Linked DNA regions of Homo sapiens: region 1 is linked to region 2. The links are contacts of gene promoters, found by promoter capture Hi-C in human tissues and cell types (Jung and others, 2019). All regions are on one chromosome and are shown on one strand. Each heading gives the region's core, a stretch centred on a gene start or on the middle of the fragment in contact. The rest is flanking DNA. Distances are from core to core; before and after follow the strand shown.

What was found. The method cuts DNA at HindIII sites, captures the fragments that hold promoters and counts their contacts. A contact is called where the count stands out against the background at its distance.
Region 1: a fragment that was not itself captured here is called in contact with the fragment with the promoter of MAL in region 2 in 2 of the 25 tissues and cell types used here (aorta and stomach).

The regions. Positions count from the first base shown.
Region 1 is chr2:94,938,169-94,941,641 of GRCh38, forward strand. The region is part of intron 1 of LOC442028 (a long non-coding RNA gene); the gene reads right to left. Among named protein-coding and RNA genes, the nearest start is that of TEKT4, 68 kb to the left of the region's middle. The HindIII fragment of the contact is 5,057 bases long and covers 1-3,473 here.
Region 2 is chr2:95,023,104-95,027,053 of GRCh38, forward strand. It overlaps MAL (mal, T cell differentiation protein (MAL blood group)), which reads left to right and starts at 2,605. Exons shown (of 4, transcript NM_002371.4): 1 at 2,605-2,782. The coding sequence starts at 2,690. MAL-AS1 (MAL antisense RNA 1) reads right to left here and starts at 3,926. Exons shown (of 8, transcript XR_007087136.1): 1 at 3,456-3,926; 2 at 3,237-3,330; 3 at 1,092-1,154; 4 at 114-240. RefSeq lists a silencer at 2,505-2,634 and an enhancer at 2,989-3,712. The HindIII fragment of the contact is 10,437 bases long and covers 1-3,950 here.

The DNA.
Region 1 (3,473 bases), core at 425-2,924, 86 kb before region 2:
GTGATCCACCAACACCTGGCCTTACGTAGTCATCTTTTTAACAAGTCATTACAAATTCTAATTTGATTTTGTGTCTCAGAGGTCCAAATGATTCTGCATTTTAATATTTCATTCAGCACAGGACACAAAACTGAAATTCAATAAGCTATGAGATAAATAATTCCATATCAAAGAAGCATATAATTTTCCCTTAAATATCAAAATCTTGATAATTGATTTCATTCTAAAAATTTAACAATGTCCAATAGCAATACATTCAAAGGAGAAGATGCCAAGTACATTGTAATGCAAGAGTAAAAGAAGGATATGAGAAAAATGACCTTAAAATTATTCAAAGACATGTTTTCAGACAATCCTACAACCCAGAACTGAAAAAAAGCCATTTCACTTGACCAGGTTGACATTACCTACTTAGCACAAAGAAACTTTTGAGGTGTTCTGGTTTACATCCACTTGTAGGAAAGGCTACCAATTGACAATAGCTTACATTTATTAAGCATGTATCTTCTTAATATCTATAACTACCCTGTAAGGTAATGGCCATTAGTATATTATTTCATAGATGATAAAACTGAAGCTTAGAGGTGTCAAGAAACTTGACCATGGTCATTCAGCTTCTGAGATAAGAGTGGCAATACCAATCTATTATCAGCTGGTCATTACCAGTATTTGTTGGACATTTACTATTACTGTCTCAGCTGCTATCGGGTTTTGGGGAAGCAAGAATGTTAAAGTTCAATAGAGGAAGAAGGAGATACAAAACTCAGTACAAAAGTTTTTATAAGAGCTCCACAAAGGGCTTAGGGGGGCACAAAAGAGAGGAATGGGTAGAAAAGCAACGTGTCAGTTGACTTATGCAAATAAACTACTGAACGTTTCTTTAAGTAAAGAGCATCCAAAATTTATTTCCTGGTCAATATACTTTCTCTGGTTTTTATTCATGAAAATCTTTTGATGTATACTACAGATTTCAGAGAATATGGGTCCAATTTCAGAGTATGTAAACCCCGTCCCCTTACATTTATAGCACACATTTATGCTTATACACAACATAAGCATAAAATCTAGGTTATCTTGTCGCATCATTACTACTGTTTCAATGTGGTTGGGAGAGGAAGGTTTACGTTAAACACAAAATGTTCCTCACATGTCACTTGACTTGAACTGTTCCCATCATCAAGAAAAATTACGGTAAGAATGAAAGGAGTTTACTTTTCTCTGTGACTGTTCTAAAGAAGCAGAGGAGCGTTTTAAGTTTATCTGGTTTCCTTGATGAACGTCCCTCAAACAACCTAAAAGAGTTGAAAAATAAAAGAGAGTGGAAGATGACTTAAAATGCCTTAATGATTCACAAAACTACATCCATATTGCTACCACATAATAAAAAGAAATAATTGTTCCAGAAGACAATTCTGTAATGATAAGAACTAGAAAATTCGTTTAGATTCAAACGGCATCTGGAGAGAACTGAAACCAACTAGAACCAGACTTCTCCAAAGCTGTTCAAACCAGACAGCATTTGCTACCAACCACATTTCTCCAACCTATATCTTCCACCACAAAGAAGGCACCATGCACCATCTAGCCCTCCCAGTCAACTGTGGTCAGTCAGTGCAGTCAATGGCTAATAACATTTATAATTCATAATGTTACTAGTTTGGTAAGTAACAAAAACAGTATCTGAAAAAAATCATCTGAGTGTTTGTGAGGAAATTAGAGTGGAGGGGAATGGGGGAAGGGACACAGGCAGGTATAACAAGATATCAGGGCTCAACAATCCTTGTTAATTATACTAGATTCTTTTATGGATTGAATGTTTGTGCCCTCTCAAAATTTACATATTGAATCTTTAAACCCTAATGTAGCTAAATTTGGAGACAGGGCCTGTGAGAAGGTAGTAACAGTTAAATAAGGTCATAGGGGTGGGACTCTAATCTGATAGAACTGGTGTCATTTTAAGAAGAGAAGGTGAGACTACGGTACTCTCACTCTGCCACATGAGGACAAGATGTTAGCAAACCTATAAGCCAGGAAGAAAGCCCTCATCAGGAACCGAACCAGCAGCACCCTGATCTGCAGCTTCTAGCCTCCAGAACCGTGAGAAAATAAGTTTCTGTTGTTTAAGCCACCCAGTTCTATGGTATTTTATTATGGCAGCCCAAGCTGACTAATAGAGATCCTTGGCATGGTAACCAAAACAGTGCCTACCCTGTGTCATCTAGTTTTCAGCAACCTGGACTTGGATTACTTAATTCAGTTTCCTTTGAAATGATGTGGCATTGTTATTGGTAACACGTAATTCAGTTTATTCTGAGAAAAGCAGGGCTTTAAAAGCATTATCACCCGAGTAAGTAGTTCACTAAAAGATTTCTAACACAAAAGCATGCTTTTGAGTATAAGATCTAGCTTTCCAAAGGCATTTAAAAATTATAGAGACTCAGTGGCCATGAATGATGAGGTACTCTTCATCTGCCTCTAGTCATGTGCTCTAACTTTAAAACCAGAGACCCTTCAAGTAAAGTCCACGTTAGTAAGTGCTGAAATGGGTAATTATTTTTCATGATTACAAGAGTAAGCTTATGTAACTACGCTGAGAGAAAAGTTAATTCCATGAGAAAATCCTATTGAGTAACTGAAATAAATTAGGAAAAGGAAATGCAGTTTTCAAATGGTTCCGTTTTCAACGATCTGAAATCTCTATTCAGGGTCAATTTCTGGAAAAACAGTTTATATGAGTATTTATTTCATAAAAAGAATACTTATGTAGGCTAGTATTTTAACAAAATCTAAAATCAGATCTCTTTTTAAAAAGTTTAAGACATCCTGTGTGATAATTTTTATTTATTTAAAAGAACCTATCCTTCTAAAATATTTAATACACATACTCTTATAATCCAGTCGCCAGCTTAAACAGGGTACAGATTAAATAAGATAGTATTTCTAAATTGATTCCGAATGGATTAAAACTCAATAAAATGGACATTTTATTGAGTGAATGGAGAGAGCTAATACATCTGGCAAGTCAGTTAAGAGAGCTTCTGCCATTTTTGTTGACATGTAATAGTGTAATAAAGTCACATGTAATACCATAAAGCTCTGTAAAGAAATTTTAACCTAGCCTATTTGTTTAAAGGAGATGTTAACAATTCATGCTCCCTTGAACCACTTCATTTTTGCTTTTAGGACAGGAGTGTTCATTAACACACACAATCAATTACTAAAATAAATATTATCAAGCAGTAACCAAAAAATTCAACGTAAGGCTATCATACCCAAACTCAAAGATCCAGAAGCCAATTTAACTAATCCATGCCTCCTTGGCAAAAGTGTATGGATATTACCTTTTCCTTGTGATAGTAAAACCTACCCATTTTCTTACCTCACCCAGTATCAGGTTTCATGTTTCCACAAATAAAGCAGACAATGAACATACTGTGTAGAAATCTTGAGCTCTTAATTAAAAAGTACTCACC
Region 2 (3,950 bases), core at 1,355-3,854:
CTTTCCAATTCCTACTTTGTGGAAACCCACCCAAGGCCACGTTATTAATATTTGACAGAAGCCCCAGACCCACCCTCTTATTCACACCCACTGGGAAGACCAAGGATACTCACTGAGTTATTATTGGCTGAAATTATTTTTTCATATCCTGCTGGAAACCAAAATATGGTCCTGGGCTTCTGATAAGTATCAACCACCTCATTCACCAGCAGGTGGCCCAGAGCACCTGCAGAAGCTGTGCTGGGGAATGAAGACAGGCCCATCTTTACTTACCAATGCCTCTCTCTTACCAATGTCTCTCTCTCTCACCAATGCCTCTGTTTTACAAATGCCTCCTCTCACCAACGCCTCTCTCTCTCTCTCTCACACACCAGTGCCTCTCTCTCACCAGTGCCTCTCTCTGTCTCACCAACGCCTCTCTCTCACCAATGCCTCTCTATTTACCAATGTCTCTCTATTACCAGTGCCTCACTCCTCACCAGTGCTTCTTACATCCAAACAGGGCACTTCCATGTCCTCCTCTGGTGGTCAAGCACAGACAAAGCTGGAGTCATCCACCATTGGCTAAGGTTTAATGAGCACTCACCAGAGGCTGGGCTCTGCTTGGGTGCTGAGCATATGCTAGGGTGGGGAAGGAGAGGGGCAGATGGGGGTGGCTGGAGGATGCCCTGCCGAGGGTAGAGTCTGGTCAGGAAGATGAACGTCGAGCGGAGAACTCCAGGTGGGAGGAGGGGGTCACAGAGATAGGGACAAACCCCCTTGACCCTGGCCGGGCTGCCTTCCTCATCCTCTGAAGCCTCTTTCAGAGATTGCTGCCCCTCTGCCTTATCAAAGGAGGGCTGGGACTGCTGAGCTCCACTGAGTTGCCCCTGGGAGCGAGCTTTCCCCAAAGGCTCAGGCCCAAGTAGGAATGAGTTAGCAACAAAGGCTTGAAATAAGTAGGAAATCACCAAACCAAACCACAAACAAAAGCCCTCCAGGCCAGGTAAGGACATTATTAGGAGTTGATAGGATCTTCTTGTTCTTAATTAGTATGTGCTGATAGGAAATCTCCAAGCAGCTTTCGCTGGACTGCCTGAGGGTCATCTCACCTCTCTTCAGGCTGCGGCTTCCTGTGGCCACCTTGCTTTAAGGCTTGTTCCCAGGACGGTCTCCTGGGGAGGAAGAAGATGTCCTCTCAGAGGCCAGCAGGTCCAACTAACGAGCTATGAGATGCCCAAGGTGGATGAGGACCTGGGCTCCTAAAGTCCCACAGCCCATTGTGTCCAGAGAGATGCTGCCCTGGGGACCCGACACAATGGCACCTTGGTTGCAGCCGTCCGGGCTGGCAGCTCACAGAGGCACAGTGGGGTTTTCTCATTTCAAATGCCTGGCCCCTTTCCAGAGGCACTTAGAATGGCCAGCTGATGGGCGTGCTACTTTTGCTTTGGAAAATGCGTCCACGAATATACTTCTCTCCCTAGGGACTGGGAAGGAGGAAGAATTGTGCAGCAGGGAGAGGTGAAGGCCCCACTGGAGAGAAGGGGAGCCCCTTGTCCTGCCTGCAGCAGCTGCCAATGGAAAGAAAGAAGAGTTGGGAGTCTAAGCTGGAGGTTGCGGGGCCAATTCCCTTTTGGCAGGCGAGAATCCGGACTCGGGCGGATTTCAGGCTTCAGTGTTTGTAGGAGGAAACACAGCAATCACACTATTAATAGTAAATTAAAATAAATGGGCAACTGCTGCATGGTAATACTTTTTTTTTTAAGGCAAAAAATAAAAAATAGTGAAACAGAGAAACAAAACATGAAACACCGGCAGTCAACAGGCAGGCAAAGAACCTGGGGGTGGGGGTAGCAGCGGTCCCACCCTCAAAAGGCCCGGGCTGCCCAGACCAAGAGAAAGCGATGAATCTCTTCTGGTAACGTCCCTTCCTGTCGCATGGATTCAAGGCCGACCTGCCCCAGCACCACCACCAGCAGCCTTCTGCTGGGGCCGGCACAGCTGGGAGCAACCTCCTACTCTCAGGCAGACGCGCAGCACCAAGCAGAGAGGCCCGGTGCAGGATCCCAGCGCCGAACCAGCGCCGGCTCAGTGGACGCGGAAGGGGCCGGCGGCCGCGGCCGGTCCCATCCCCCACTGCAGACCCCCAGCCTGTGGCGGTGGTCCAGTTCCGCCAGGAAACCGCCGCCTGGAGCTGTGGGTCGCGCACATTAACGCATCCAGCGGAAAAATGAAGGAGACCCAAATTCAAAGTTAAAGTAATGGTGACCCGAGAGGTGCCTTGATGAGAAGGTTTGGGGTCCCGGTTACTGATGGTTATCATTCTTACGAGATGCTGGTCACCTACGAAGGGAGAAAGGCACGAGGAGCGCCTGACCAAAGTGGTTTTGCCCTGCTTCCCGCAAGAGGTGGCACCCACGGCTGGAACGCAGGAGTCAGACCCACAGTCCCCAGCTCTGGACGCCCGCAGCGGGGCCTCGAAGAGGTTCAGGGCGGTGCCCGCGGCGCTCGGGCCGGGTCTCCCGGGGCGTGGGGCGGGGGGCGGGGTTGGGCGGCGGCCGGGGCTCCTCCCTCTTCTGCCCCGGGCTCCCCTGCTCTTAACCCGCGCGCGGGGGCGCCCAGGCCACTGGGCTCCGCGGAGCCAGCGAGAGGTCTGCGCGGAGTCTGAGCGGCGCTCGTCCCGTCCCAAGGCCGACGCCAGCACGCCGTCATGGCCCCCGCAGCGGCGACGGGGGGCAGCACCCTGCCCAGTGGCTTCTCGGTCTTCACCACCTTGCCCGACTTGCTCTTCATCTTTGAGTTTGTGAGTGGCTCCTGGCCGGGGAAGGGACGGGGTGGGCTGAGCCGTGCGCTCTCTCGGGCGCCCAGCACAGCTGTCGGACGGGATCCGCTAGCTGCGCAGGTTCTGGGAGCATCGGGGCAGCAGGCGCAGGGCGGGGACTAAGCCAGGGAAGTCCCCTCCCACCTCCGGTCCTTTGTGCCCTTCTAGACCAACAGAATGAGGGGAACAGTCTACAGGACTATGGAGGAAAAACTGGGTTCCCAACTGGGGTCAGATGTAGGCAGCGGGGCAGGGGGGGACGGCTCTTGGTTCGCTGGTCCCAAAGCTGCGCGCGGGGCCCACTTGACGCGCGCAGCGCCACCGAAGCTCCCGCCGCGCTTTGCGCGGTTGGGTAGAAGTGCGCAGCTTTTACAAGGGAGAAGGTTTCGTTAAAAAAGAAAAAAAAATCAGCAAGAGAAACATTAGTATTACCAACCGAGATTTGGAGATGAGAGGGAGCTGAATCCGGTTTATTTTCTTCTGGCCTTTTAAAGTTTCTGGCGAGGGAACGTATTTGCGACCAATTCGATCTGGAAATGAGGCCATCGTTTGCTTGGCCGCAGTCCTTCTGCCCCGTGTGCGGGGTGGGGGTGGAGGAGATGGGGGGTGGGGGGTGGGGGGTGGCGGCGAGAGCGATCCGCGCGCCTCGACTGACCTTGGGCAGGCCCGGGGCCTCTGCACCTGCGGTCGGTCCCGCCTTGCACGCACGGTCTCTGCCTGAGGCTGCAGGAAAGCGCTTCCTACTGAGAACTCCTGATAAGCGCTCACGGTGTCGCGAAGCCGAAGTGACCTCCCTCAGCCTCAACTCCCCGGGGGCCGCTGGCCTTCACCTGGGAGGGGTGTGCCCTGTATGTCCTGTGGGTGCGGTCCGTCACCGCCTGAGGGACACCTTTTCCGGCACCCCACCCTCAGAAGTGTCAGCGTGGAGAGTTGGGCGGGAAAGAAAATGTCGGAGCCTGGCTGTTTAAAAATTGGACCCCAGGTTGTTATTGCCTGATTGGAGGGGGAGGGTGTGAATACCAAAGGGAGCAGGTCAGTTCATCCAAAGAGGGCTTGCGGGCAGAGGCTAAGAGGGCTGCGGCGGCCTGGGAGCAGGGCTACCATTGAACTTAGGGTGAAAGTCCAGTCGAACCCAAACCTGGGTGGAACC